4 separate regions of the Homo sapiens genome follow, and regions 1, 2 and 3 are each linked to region 4. Evidence: promoter capture Hi-C in 16 types of primary human blood cells and fetal thymus (Javierre and others, 2016). All regions are on one chromosome and are shown on one strand. Each heading gives the region's core, a stretch centred on a gene start or on the middle of the fragment in contact. The rest is flanking DNA. Distances are from core to core; before and after follow the strand shown.

Region 1 (3,166 bases), core at 269-2,768, 280 kb after region 4:
TGAAATCTGTCTTAATAGAAATATATCCTGGGTAAGTAAGCTTCTCTATTTTTAATGTTCCAAAAAAGAAGGAATGCCATCAATCATTCTATAATTACTGAGTTCCTACTGTGTGTAAGGCACCATGCCAGATGCTATTTGTACTGTCAAGTTGCCTTTACAATTTTTCATATTTATGTCTTGTTGATTCAGATTTGTCCTCGAACATTCCTATCTCAGAAAGACCTTCCTTGACCCCCCCACTTGAAAGCAGCTGTCCCTTGCCCTGTCAACTCTATCACATCTCTGTGCTTTATTTCTTCTAGGGCTAAGGGGATTCTACAATTTCTCACTATGTCTTCCTTTTGAGGTGAAAGGGAGTGCTGTTATCATTACAGAAGGATAACAGGTGTAAATTGGCAATGTGACCTGGGATAGTTGGACACCCTCTTCATAGCATTTATCACTTCATTGCATTTAGCATTCCAAGATAATGGACATTATTTTGTCCACTTATTTGTTTACTTGTAAGTTCCATGAAGCAGGAACTTTTCTTGTTCTAGGAATCCATCACCCAGAAGAGTTCTTGACACAAAATAAGTAGGTTCTTAATAAATATTGGTTGACTGAATGGATGACCCAACCATGCCCCATATTCTGTGGTAGAACTGAGCATCCTTTGGTTGGCACTGGTAAATTGAAATGCCATGAAGGCACATTTGCTCAGAGTGCTCTTTCCCTAAGCAGAGGGGAAAAAGGAGCCAACGTTTAATATTCAGATTTTGATTTGCAGTGTTTTCCGTGAAGACATGAGTCTGGTAGATGGGTACTAGCAACATCAACTGTTTTGTTACTTGCAAGGAGACTGAGGTGCTGTGGTCTCCAAGATAGGCCTGGTCTAAAGAGCAGACCAGTGGGATGTGAACGGTAATAGGCCAGTTGGATCTGGTGGTCGGTTAGTCCATAGGGAAACCTGTCTCCAAGCAATGGAACAGCTGAATCCGCATGACTTGGTCCATAGGCCAAAAAGGAGGAACAGCTTTTAAGTGGCCTGCTATGTAGGCCCATTCAATTCCCAAGGAGGCAGGAAGCCAGTGGGATACAAAGGAAAAAACACCTTTCTGTGTCTGGGAAGTTGCTAGTCTGATCACGTGTATGTACATTTCACACACACACACACACACACACACACACTCTCTCTCACATTATGAGAGTCCAAGGGCCCCAAGAGTCTGTTCTGATAGAGAAGTCTAACATAATTCTCTACCACCGTACCTAAAACCAGACCAATCTTTTAAATCAGGGGCCTGGGTTTTAGTGGCTTAGTAGCTCATTTTAAGTTTTCCTTCTCCTTCCAAACAGAGAGGTCTGTGTCCTGTGTTATGCTGATCTATGGGAGAATTCCTGCAGGAGGAAGGGGCTGAAACATTGGCCTAAGGTTATTAAACAGAGCTTTCGTAATAAATATGTTGATACCATTTCTGAAAGATTTGCATATTTCTCTATCACATATTGTTCAATTTTATTAGAGGAAATCATTCTGGTATCCTGTTGGAATTGCTGAATTTTGGGGTATTATCTTAAGCTCCTTGATTTTAATGCTGTGGGAACTGAGACTCAGATTGAATAACCTGCCTTCCTTGACATTAACTGAGATAAGCTCCTGTTTTCAGAAGTTAGAACCCTCTACTGATAGTTGACTTTAGGCATGTGTTTTAAAAACGACAGTTGGATATGGTTGAGAGCTCAGTTGCTAAAGCTGTGAAGCAACTTGGGACACACGTTTAACCAAATAAAATTATTTTCCCCAGCTCATGCTGTGCTGACAGCTTCCAAAAACTGTGTTCACCTTCATTCTCTCCTCATAAAAAGGGGCTACAGGTATTTTTAAACCTGGGGTTTGAGGAAGAGAATGTTAATTATAAATCTAGATTAGTTGAATGTATTCAAGAATTTGCCAGACTGAATATGAATACTCTTGGAGTGTAAGTGAAACAAAAATGAGGCCTTTGGTGACCTATTATCTATCGATCTATATCTATCTATCTTTCATCCCAGATTGGTTTTAGAATGAGAAGAACAAAAGTTGCTTTTTCTCATTTCTTACTCTTACACAATGAAGTGGTTAACAAAATTGATACAGAGTGACAACTTTAATGATCATTCTGTTGCAAACAACTACAAGTCCAAACAAATATCAGCACAAAGAAAATCTCTATTCTGTGTAGCAACATGTTGGTCAGACTTTCGCCAATGAACCACCTATTTAAAAAGGACTTGATATTGACAAACATCTCTGATCAGTCTTTGACGTTTATAGTAACAAGCTATAATGTTATCTCCTACCACCTTTCTGTTTAGGCCCCAATATGAAATGCCTATGAATGTTATAATTTTGTATAACTCCAGGAGAAACATCCAACAATATTTTTCACCTTTTTTCCCAATAGTGAAAAAATCCAAATATAATAGTTATATTTATGGATTCTGCTCTTTGTTGAACACAGTGCTTTACAGACAACATATGGTGACAAGCCATCACTCTTCCTATTTTATGTAATGAGGAAACTTAAATACAGAGTCTTTAAGGACCTAGTCAGTCACACAAATACTGAGAAAATTCTATGCTAATAATCCTATCTGCAGGTCACATCGGCACCTTACTTTCAATAATCAACGCAGGGCCGATCAATTGCATTATTCTACTACATACAACTTCTTGTTTTAGAATCAAAGAATGTCATGCCTATAAGCGACCAGAAATGCCTGGACTACCTATTCGAAAACTTTCATCTTCATTCTTCTTAGAGACATTATGTCGTCATCACCTGCTGCCACTAGATGGTGCTTGTCATCGAAACAAAGGTCCTTCCTCCTTTCTGTTTTCTTTAGATGCCTATTAGGACCTTGGATGATACGAAAGAAATTTGATTAATAAGCTAAGTACTGGGCTGGTATTCTAAGAAGTCCTTTAGTACAGAGAGTTGTTGATTAAAAAGTAAACAAATCATTATCAGTAAAGCTTACTTACACCATTTTTCTAATTCCATCAGTTTTTCTGCTCATTCTTCTTGTCACCAAGCTGTGTGAACCCCAAGACAAAAAGAACTAATAAATCTTTCTTTGTGCTTATGAGAATCAAGAGACATGGCACAAGTTTTAGGAGAGGTGAACAAAAATCTCAGGA
Region 2 (3,179 bases), core at 65-2,564, 300 kb before region 4:
CCTATGTAATCTTTCATTTCTGGGTGATGACTATTCTTGAGCATAGAGTTTTGCCCCATTGCTTGTAGATGAACAGAGGAGAAAACTCCCCTTGAAAGGCCGTCATTGAACTATAAACACTTCAAACCAAAAGGATACACGTGGTTCATACAGAGTTCTTGTTCTTTCTGGGACCATTTAACCCCTCAAAACATCAAATTCAACAGCATTACAAGTAATTCAGATCTCAAAATTGAAAGATCAAAAAGCAAAAGAAAACCAAGTTTAAAATGTGATTATTATAAATGTCAATGTGCATTGTCAATGAGCATATACTCTTATTATGTTATCATTATCCATGCAAGTTTAAGATTTGAGATCAATAAAGTCATACAACTTGACTTTTTCCCTAAGAAAATTTTTGCCTGTTACATCTGTTAGAGCACAAGGCAAGACAAAACAAAAGCTATATTGAATTAACAAATCACTGTCAACTACAGATCCTGTCAAGTTAACAAACACACACACATATTATCTGTGAAAGAAAAATTACATCTCAGTATTTTTGTGTGCCTTCCATGTGCCACACACATAGGAAAATACTGTAAACAAGACAAGGTAAGATTTTCGTTTTTGGCTGGGCGCAGTGGCTCATGCCTATAATCCCAGCACTTTGGGAGGCTGAAGCGGATGGATCACCCGAGATCAGGAGTTTGAGACCAGCCTGGCCAACATGGTAAAACCCCGTCTCCACTAAAAATACAAAAATCAGCCAGGTTTAGTGGCGCGAGCCTGTAGTCGCAGCTACTCAGGAGGCTGAGGCAGGAGAATCACTCGAAACTGGGAGGCAGAGGTTTCAACGAGCTGAGATCACGCCACTGCACTCCAGCCTGGGCAACAGAGCAAGACCCTGCCTTAAAAAAAAAAAAAAAAGTCTTGTTTTCAAGGAACTTACAGTCTAATGAATGGAAAAGATAGGTACAAGGGCAGATACCTAATGTCAAAATCATGGGCTAAAAGTAATAACAATTTTATTAGAGAGAAAGAGTCAGAGAGGAAGGGCAGTTAGCCCAGTCCAGGGATTCACAGTATCATCCCTGGAGGAGATGATGTGAAAGCTGAGAGAGAATGAAGAGTCAGGAGAAAGGAGAAGGAAAGAGTATTGTATCTATATAGCACCAATACAAGTGGCTGGAAGTTCAAAATTCAAGTAAGTGTTAATTGCCATCACATAGTATTAATTATTTCTATTCTGCCTCATTCCCAAAAGATTTTGTAGAGCTTATGAAAAACACACAATAAATATAACAAAAAATTGAAAGTAGGATTTAAAATGAGTCATAATTTCAAGAAAATCAGAATACAGATATGCAAGTCACACAGGCCTGCTCAATTGCTACAAACAGCCTAAGATTTTGGACCCCATATTTCTGGCAGCAAAGGTAGAAAAAGAAACATGGTCAGTGCTGGTATTCTATTTGTCCACAAGAAGAAAATATTTTAGTTACTCCAGGGAAGTCACATTTTTTTTCTTAAACTTTGTGCTTTAAAAAAATTAAAGTCTTAGCTGGGTGCAGTGTCTCACCCCTGTGATCCCAGCTACTAGGGAGGCTGAGGCAAGAAGATCACTTGAGCCTAGGAGTTCTAGACCAGCAGCCTGGGCCGTATAATGAGACCCCTAAAAGAAAAAAAAAGTACATGGAACTTCATTTGGGGGACACTGAAAAATGCCATTGACAAGATTCTCGCTCAACAAATGCAGTTATGAATTTCAGTTCTTATTTGTTTTGTGATGGTAGTACTCATTTCAACTGCTTGTTTTCTTAAAATTAAATTCAAACTCACCTTTGCCTCAAGTCTTGCTTCTGCCCTGTTATCTCCCTTTTACGGAAATCATGCCGAGATCCACCCAGATAAGTGCAGAATCCTCTTCATTATGTTTCAAAGCCAGTTTAGTGAGAAATGAGCTTACACAAAGCTATCAATCAGCCAACTTCCTATTCTCCACCAGTTTTTTAGAGATCCTTGGTGAATGTGACCAGGTATAGCTGCATGGTATAGTTAATAGCATGTGATGATGGCATCTTTGACGAATGTTTTTTTTTCCAGGGCGGGAGAGAAGACCCAATGGCCTATGGAGCCATGTTTCCAGGATTTGGAGGCATGAGGCCCGGCTTTGAGGGAATGCCCCACAACCCAGCTATGGGCGGTGACTTCACTCTGGAATTTGACTCCCCAGTGGCTGCCACCAAAGGCCCTGAGAACGAAGAAGGAGGTGCACAAGGCTCCCCTATGCCGGAGGCCAACCCAGACAATCTAGAAAACCCAGCTTTCCTTACAGAGCTAGAACCTGCTCCCCACGCAGGGCTCCTTGCTCTCCCTAAGGATGACATTCCCGGCCTGCCAAGGAGCCCTTCAGGGAAGATGAAGGGACTCCCCAGCGTCACCCCAGCAGCTGCTGACCCACTGATGACCCCTGAATTAGCTGATGTTTATAGGACCTACGATGCTGACATGACCACATCCGTGGATTTCCAGGAAGAAGCAACCATGGATACCACGATGGCCCCAAACTCTCTGCAAACATCCATGCCAGGAAACAAAGCCCAGGAGCCCGAGATGATGCATGACGCATGGCATTTCCAAGAGCCCTGACAGCTCTAAGATATTAGCTACTTTCTGTATGCACAAGCTTCCCAGCTTTGTCCCCACAGTGTACCTTTTTGCTAAAACACTTATTACCCTTCTGCAGCAAAGGCATTAAAAGCGCTAAGCATATATTAATAAATGCAAGTGGCTAGAAATAGTGTAGGTCCCCTTCTTGCTTTCAATATCTTGTTGAAATAAAATGTGTCAATTGTCTCTGTGATTTAGAAACACTATTAATAACATCAGAGCAAGGTTCTAAGGGTCTCAGCATTTGATCATCACTTTTTCTTAGCTGTCTTAAGCATTATAGAATTTCTCTTACCAGCATGACACTATTATATTCAGGAAACATGGCACTGCTTTTTTCTCTAAGCAAAGGCAAATATCCTCATAATTCTAAGCTAATTCATTTAAACTTTATTAAATGGGGATTGGTGGAAAACTCCTGACTGGTATTACTGGGTTTGGTATAATTTAATTTAAAATTCTCATTTATAGAGTATTTTATTTAATCTAGTATAAAAAATCTAGCCTATTTTAAATAAAGAATT
Region 3 (3,592 bases), core at 994-3,493, 260 kb before region 4:
GGCAGCCAGAGTGAACCTGTGAAAACAATAGTCTCATCTTGTTGCTCCTCTGCTCAGTCCCTGCAATGACTGCCAATTTCTTATCTTTCTTTTCTTTCTTTCTTTCTTTTTTTTTTTTTTGTAAGACAGAGTCTCGCTCTGTCATCCAGGCTGGAGTGCAGTGGCACGATCTCGGCTCACTGCAACCTCCACCTTCTGGATTCAAGCAATTCAGTTCTCATACCTCAGCCTCCCGAGTAGCTGAGATTACAGGTGTGTGCCATCACACCCGTCTAATCTTTGTATTTTTTTAGAGATGGGATTTCACCATGTTGACCAGACTAGTATCGAACTCCTGGCCTCAAGTGATCCAGCCACCTCAGCCTCCCAAAGTGCTGGGATTACAGGCATGAGCCACTGCAACTGGCAGAGATTGTTCTTAAAATAACATTGAAGATTACCGTGTCAGTAATGGTATAAGGCGCTCTCAAATATATCATGAAATAACCCCAAATAAAAATGATTCAGATAATTGTATGCAACCTAGAAAGTGGCACTTCTAATTTTCATATGAGTAACATAAGAAAGGAAGCAGAAAGATCCAGGCAGTTATCACAGGCTTTAAGAAGCTTTTATTTAGGCCAGGCACGGGTGGCTCACACCTGCAATCCCAGCACTTTGGGAGGCTGAGGCAGGTGGATCACTTGAGGTAAGGAGTTTGAGACCAGCCTGGCCAAGGTGGTGAAATCCCGTCTCTACTAAGAATACAAAAATTAGCCGGGTATGGTGGTGCTGGCCTGTAATCCCAGCTACTGTGGAGCCTGAGGCAGAAGAATCGCTTGAACCCAGGAGGGGAAGGTTGCAGTGAGCTGAGATCACATCATTGCACTCTAGTCTAGGCGACAGAGCGAGACTCAGTCTCAAAAAACAAAAAAGGAAAGAAATCTGAATTTAGATAGGCACAATGGCTCACACCTGTAATCCCAACACTTTGGGAGGCTGAGACAGGAGGATCACTTAAGCCCAGGATTTCAAGACCAGCCTGGGCAACATAGGGAGAATAAAATAAATGTTAGGTGAACGTGGTGTCACGTGCCTGTGGTCCCAGCTACCCAGGAGGCTGAAGTGGGAGGATCACTTTAGCCTGGGAATTCAAGGCTGCAGGGAACCCTGATCTTGCCACTGCACTCCAGCCTGGGCAACAAAGAAAAACCCTGTCTCAAAAACTAAGATGTCTGTATTCTACCTCTTGAGGGCACTACCTGATTTCCTGCATGATCTTGGGAGATATTTCCTTGCCTGTCTTTCTCATCTCCATCCACAAATGGGGATTAAAATACTTTTCTTTATATTGCATTTGTTTTAAAAAGAAAAATCAAATGATCTAAATGCCACACAAATGTCTAACAAACATACTGACTGAGTTCGTGATGATTAAATCATTCATTAAATGAAAATTTATTAAGAACATCCCACTCTCCTCGGTACTGGAAAACAAGGATGAGAAGCATAATGTTTTCATTCAAAACCTTCACATGGGAGAATTAAATGGAAGAATCCCAGGAAAATAGGAAACTGAAATTCAGTGGGATAATTGTGATGACAGAAATCTGTACTGCTGTGGACTCCTAGGAATAGGACCTAATTCTGCCCATGGAAGTCAAGACACAGAAGGTAGAAGTCAAACTGAGCTCTGAAGGATGAGTCAAATTTGCCAGGAGGAATAAATGTGTCAATGGAAGAAGTTTCAATATGAATAAGCCGTGTGCAAAGGCACTGAAACATAAAAAGAATAGAGAACCCAGAGAATTCAACGTAGTTGTGATTTGCAACTGCATAAAGTGCAAGGGGGAGGAAATGAGGCTGAATGTAATAGTTATAGCCCAGATTATTATTAAAAATTGTATTATTATTATATAATATATAACACTTATTAGGCACTTACTAAGTACCAGGCACTGAGCTGTACTTATTTTGTCTCATTTGGCCCTCATGACAACCTATGAGGTAGACGTTATTTTATTATCATCTCCATATTACAAATGAATAAACCAAGGTTGGCCCAGAGTCATAGTACTAATACTGGTGGAACGGGGATTTTAATGCACATCTGTCTAGAGCCCCACTGTTTAGCAGCATGTTGTACTGCTTTGATGTTATGTTAAGGGATTTAGAGTTTATTTTGTAAAGGAGAACTTTAAATACAAATTTAAAGAGGAAAGGGGCCAAATTTCCATATACCCACTCTCAGCCTCTAATACTCTGACGGCAGTGCAGAAGCAAGATTAAAGGAAAGTAAGACTGTATCCAGAGTAGCCAGTAAGAAAACTACTGTAACAGTTCAGGGGTACTGTGGATTAAGGAAGTGGGAACAAGGATGAAAGTTTAGATTTTATAGGACCTGATTATTAATAGTCTGAAGTACTAAGAGAGAGCAGAAACTTAAGAAACTGTACAGATAGTGGTGAATGTTGCTTAAATATAGAACATCGGAGGAGGAGATTTCACGGGAGATGAGCCCAGTTCTGGGTGCATTCAGTTGGAGGTACTCATGAAATCTTTAGTGGAGATGTTTTGCTGCCTCAACCTTGGGTGAGAGTGTTGTGGGTTAGAATTATGCCTTTGGGAGTTGTTAGCAGTCTATGCCTATTAAAAGCATGGGCTGATGCAATAGAATTCTTTTTTCTTTCTTTCTTTCTTTTATTTTTTTTTATTTTATTTATTTATTTATTTTTTTTTTTGAGATGGAGTCTCGCTGTTGCCAGGCTGGAATGCAGTGACACGATCTGGGCTCATTGCAACCTCCACCTCCTGGGTTCAGGCGATTCTCCTGCCTCAGCCTCCTGAGTAACTGGGACTACAGGTGCGTGCACCACCATGCCCAGCTAATTTTTGTATTTTTAGTAAAGACGGGGTTTCACCATGTTGGCCAGGATTGTCTCGAACTCCTGACCTCGTGATCCACCTGTCTCGGCCTCCAAAAGTGCTGGGATTACAGGTGCAATAGAATTCTTAAAAGAGGTATGTAAAAACAGAACAGAAAAATTAGGAGGATGGAGGATGAAATCATTAAAAACAAAACAGAAAAACAAACAAAAACCCTCAGATGTATAAGGCCTAAAAAGAGAAAGCTGAGCAGTGGTCAGAAAAAAATACCAGGAGAGAGAACCAGAAAGAGTATGGTCATGGAAACCAAGGAAGAATCAAATTTCAAGAAAGAAAGTAAAGCTAATGATGTTAAAAGAATCATGTGGCTGATAAGATTTCCCTGTTATACTAAAAAATTCCAAACAACACCATGGTGGGAAACAAAGGGCAATTATTGATTTCCATTTTCTTTCCTACAGAATCCTTACTTTGGATATTTTGGATATCATGGCTTTGGGGGTCGCCCTCCTTATTATTCAGAAGAAATGTTTGAACAAGATTTTGAAAAACCCAAAGAAGAAGATCCTCCTAAAGCAGAAAGTCCAGGCACAGAACCCACAGCTAATTCAACAGTCACTGAGACGAATTCTACCCAACCAAATCCTAAAGGGAGTCAGGGAGGAAATGACACCAGCCCCACAGGAAACAGTACCCCAGGACTAAACACTGGGAACAACCCTCCAGC
Region 4 (3,590 bases), core at 2-2,501:
GTATTTTCTTCTATTAAAAAATTTTTTTTTTGAGACGGAGTCTAACTCTGTCACCCAGGCTGGAGTGTAGTGGCATGATCTTGGCTCACTGCAACCTCTGCTTCCTGGGTTGGAGCAATTCTCCTGCCTCAGCCTCCCGAGTAGCTGGGATTACAAGTGTGTGCCACCATGCCCGGCTAATTTTTGTATTTTTAGTAGAGACGGGGTTTGGCCATGGTCTTGAACTTTGGCTGGTCTTGAACTCCTGACCTCAGGTGATCCACCCACCTCGGCCTCCCAGAGTGCTGGGATTACAGGCATGAGCCACTGCGCCCGGCCTAAAACGTTTTTTTTTTTTTTTTTTTTTTTTTTTTTTTTTTTTTTTACCACTTTACCAACGTGCCAAATAATAGTGCATATATGCAGTATAATACATTTCATATCTGCACCTACTTCAAAGTGTATTCTGCCCTTTGGGATAAGCCAAAGGTGAGCTAATATCTGCACATGATTTGTTTTGCTCAGATTCTCTTTGAAAACTTGTAGATTTGATGGGTGTTGTGAGTAAAGAAGACGGACATCTCTTCGATACCCGTATTTCCCTCCTAAATTGGTAATGCTGTGGTGACATATTCAAGGTATGTGAAGGATTCTTAAACAGAATATAAAGGCTTGCCCTGGGCCCCATAACCCTGTGAGAATAAAAGTCCCTTTGTAAGTGGGTCTGAATAGCTTCTAGCTTCTAGGATGTTCTGTGCATTAGAATGCTTACAAGCTTTGGCCCCCTAAGTGGTTACACCGATGACCACCCTATCATGCTGGGTTCCGTGGTGAACTGAGAGATGCCATTACCTTTCACCGCCCTTGGCCGGACACTCACGGTGGGCCTAACTCCGGTGGTAATTCCATCCCTCACTGCGGGACCTTGACATCCCCGAGCTGAAGCCCACTTCCTCCCTGACCTCTGGAGCCCAGCTGAGCGGCTCCGAGAGCTCTGCCATGACTCCTAACCGGGTGGACAGGGGGGCCGGGCAGCCGCGGCGCACACGCTGGGCGTCGTCCCTAGCAGCAGAGGAGACCAGAAGGTGAGAGTCCCCATGCCGCAGCCGGAGGGCCGGGGTGGGCTTGCACCGCTATCGCGAGAGCTCGTGAGGTGGGGGCGGCGGGGAGCTGGGGAGGGGCTCGCGGAGAGCCTGCCCCGCCTCCCTTTCCTTCCCCTCCCCTGGAGTGATTCAAGACGAGCGCTACCCACTTCCGCCCCCTCCCCCTGCCATTGGAACTAGCTGAGCCGAACTAGTTGCGGCCACCGAGCAGCCGGCTCTCGGCACCTCCTCCTCCGCCTCCCTGTCTCCTGTTCCATTCGCCTTTCCTCTTCTTTCCTGGCCCACGCCGCTCCGAGGCCTCGCGACCGCCGAGCCTGCAGCCTGCCCCGCGGCCAACATGAGCTTCTTGTTGTGAGTAGCCAGGCCCCGCACGCGCCGGCTTTGTTCGGGTGGACCTGGGCCCCCGCCCGCCGCCCGCCGCCCGTCGCCCGCCCTCGTCCCGACCCTCCTGGCCCAGCGCTCCCGGGGCCCGGCGTCACCACCAAGCGGGGCCCCGGGACTGCGCGGAGCGCTCGGACTACCTAACCGCCGCCTCCCCATAGGGCTTCGAGTACTCGTGGGCTCCTGCAGCCCTGAGGAGGTTCTTCCCCCCCGGCACACCCCGGGGCCAGCGCCTGGATTCCTTCATCACCCCCGTCTCTGCCTTCGCTCGCATTCCCGGGCTTGTTTGTGCGCTTCTCGTGGGTATCTCCCACTCGCCTGCACAATCCGTATCCAAGCGGTGCTCGGTTGAATGGCTCCGTCGCGGCTGCCCATTGCTCTTTTCTGGGTCCCAAGCACAGAAGATAAGACTGTCGTACTTTCCCCTGTCATCCCAGGACCCTTTTAACTTCCTCTCTCGTCTTAGGGCTGGGAAGTTGGGATGACAAGTTCTGTAGATGTAACACTGAAACAAGGCTACTTGCGGGTCGGGATCCCTTGGACACAGACGGGGGTCCCTGAGAAAGGGGTCTGGAGCCGCCCCCTTGCTTCCTAGAGGCGCCCTTCCTCCCAGAGGACTTCCCTGAAGAGGATGAGTTTTATCTTTTTAGACAACCAGCAAATAGGTTTTGGATAGTGTGCCCTGCCTAGGTTGATTAGGTCCACTGGGGAGTTGTTTTGAAAATCATTTGTAAATGCCAACTTTGGCGTCATGTTTAGTGCTGGTCATTATTTCACTTACTTATCGTTTGTTCCAGACGAGTGGAGGGGAACGTGGAGGGGGAAGGGCAGAAGGATGGGATGGCCAGATGTGGATATGGAGGCAGTAGATAAGCCTCAGGTCCTCTGAAAACAGGGGTTACAGCCTGAGGAATAACTCCTTTGAAGGCTTCGTTGTGATGCACTCATTCCATGTTTAGTCTGTGTTTAGAAAACTAATAAAAAACTTAGAAGTTGAAACTCACCCATATACTGTTTTACTGTTGTGGAGAAATTAGCATTTAAAGGATATTTTCTTAAGATTTCTCTTCTTTCCTTGCCTAATAATTTTTAGTCATTACATTGACGTCTGAATACTGAGAATTTAATTCACTCTTATTTTCACATGCTCACATCTAGAATTTTTTTTTTTAGGGTGTTTAAGCAAAACTGAACAAGGCTGACCTAGGGGCAGACTTGATATTTCCAATATGCATAGGGGACCTGGCTTGTGTCAACTTGCCTAAAACCTTTAAACGGAAAGGGATTTCTTAGGCTCCTCCTAGAAGTTGATTCTGAGTTTGTCGGATTGGCATAGGGCTAGATGACAGGACTGGGTGATTTTATAAAAAAGTCCTTGTTTCTTATTTTAGTTCTTTTTTTTTTTTTTTTTTTTTTTTGAGACGGAGTCTCCGCTCTGTCACCAGGCTGGAGTGTGTAGTGGCGTGATCTCGGCTCACTGCAACCTCTGCCTCCCGGGTTCAAGCGATTCTCCTGCCTCAGCCTCCTGAGTAGCTGGGACTACAGGCCCGCGCCACCACGCCTGGCTAATTTTTGTATTTTTAATAGAGATGGGGGTTTCACCATGTTGGCCAGGCTGGTCTCGAACTCCTGATTTCAAGTGATCTGCCTGCCTTGATCTCCCAAAGTGCTGGGATTACAGACGTGAGCCCACCGTGCCTGGGCAGTTTCTTGTTTTAGTTCTAATCACCATATTCAGGTATCTCAACTTGAAGCTTCTCATCTTGAGCTTAATTTTACATTGCTAATGTTTGATTGTTTTCAAGAATTTAGAAGCTGTATTCAAAATAGCACTGTAGATGATATCCATGACTACTGCTGATGGGCTTGTGTCTAGTAAGCTAAATTGGTTAAAGCAAGGCCAGTCGCGGTGGCTCATGCCTGTAATCCCAGCACTTTGGGAGGCCAAGACAGGCAGATCACCAGGTCAGGAGTTCGAGATCAGCCTGGCCAATATGGTGAAACCCCGTCTCTACTAAAAATACAAAAATTAGCTGGGCAAGGTGGCACGCACCTGTAGTCCCAGCTACTTGGGAGGCTGAGACGGGAGTATCACTTGAACCCGGGAGGTAGAGGTTGAAGTGAGAC

Evidence for each region. The method cuts DNA at HindIII sites, captures the fragments that hold promoters and counts their contacts. A CHiCAGO score of 5 or more calls a contact.
Region 1: a contact is called between a fragment that was not itself captured here and the fragment with the promoter of MOB1B in region 4, in 1 of 17 cell types (fetal thymus). The highest score is 6.6, in fetal thymus.
Region 2: a fragment that was not itself captured here is called in contact with the fragment with the promoter of MOB1B in region 4 in 3 of 17 cell types (fetal thymus, total B cells and naive B cells); the score reaches 7.2 in fetal thymus.
Region 3: a contact is called between a fragment that was not itself captured here and the fragment with the promoter of MOB1B in region 4, in 1 of 17 cell types (total B cells). The highest score is 5.2, in total B cells.

What each region holds. Positions count from the first base shown.
Region 1 is chr4:71,181,571-71,184,736 of GRCh38, forward strand. It overlaps LOC124900712 (a long non-coding RNA gene), which reads right to left. Exons shown (of 2, transcript XR_007058133.1): 1 at 3,011-3,166; 2 at 2,118-2,885. It also overlaps a transcript of SLC4A4 not described here. Among named protein-coding and RNA genes, the nearest start is that of SLC4A4, 4.1 kb to the right of the region's middle. The HindIII fragment of the contact is 2,961 bases long and covers 39-2,999 here.
Region 2 is chr4:70,604,097-70,607,275 of GRCh38, forward strand. AMBN (ameloblastin) reads left to right here. Exons shown (of 13, transcript NM_016519.6): 13 at 2,089-3,179. The coding sequence ends at 2,634. Among named protein-coding and RNA genes, the nearest start is that of AMBN, 13 kb to the left of the region's middle. The HindIII fragment of the contact is 2,710 bases long and covers 1-2,669 here.
Region 3 is chr4:70,638,689-70,642,280 of GRCh38, forward strand. It overlaps ENAM (enamelin), which reads left to right. Exons shown (of 9, transcript NM_031889.3): 9 at 3,327-3,592. Among named protein-coding and RNA genes, the nearest start is that of ENAM, 12 kb to the left of the region's middle. The HindIII fragment of the contact is 3,274 bases long and covers 607-3,592 here.
Region 4 is chr4:70,901,118-70,904,707 of GRCh38, forward strand. It overlaps MOB1B (MOB kinase activator 1B), which reads left to right and starts at 1,252. Exons shown (of 6, transcript NM_173468.4): 1 at 1,252-1,433. The coding sequence starts at 1,420. It overlaps LOC124900711 (a long non-coding RNA gene), which reads right to left and starts at 1,114. Exons shown (of 2, transcript XR_007058132.1): 1 at 832-1,114. RefSeq lists silencers at 1,072-1,221, 1,532-1,581. The HindIII fragment of the contact is 2,463 bases long and covers 753-3,215 here.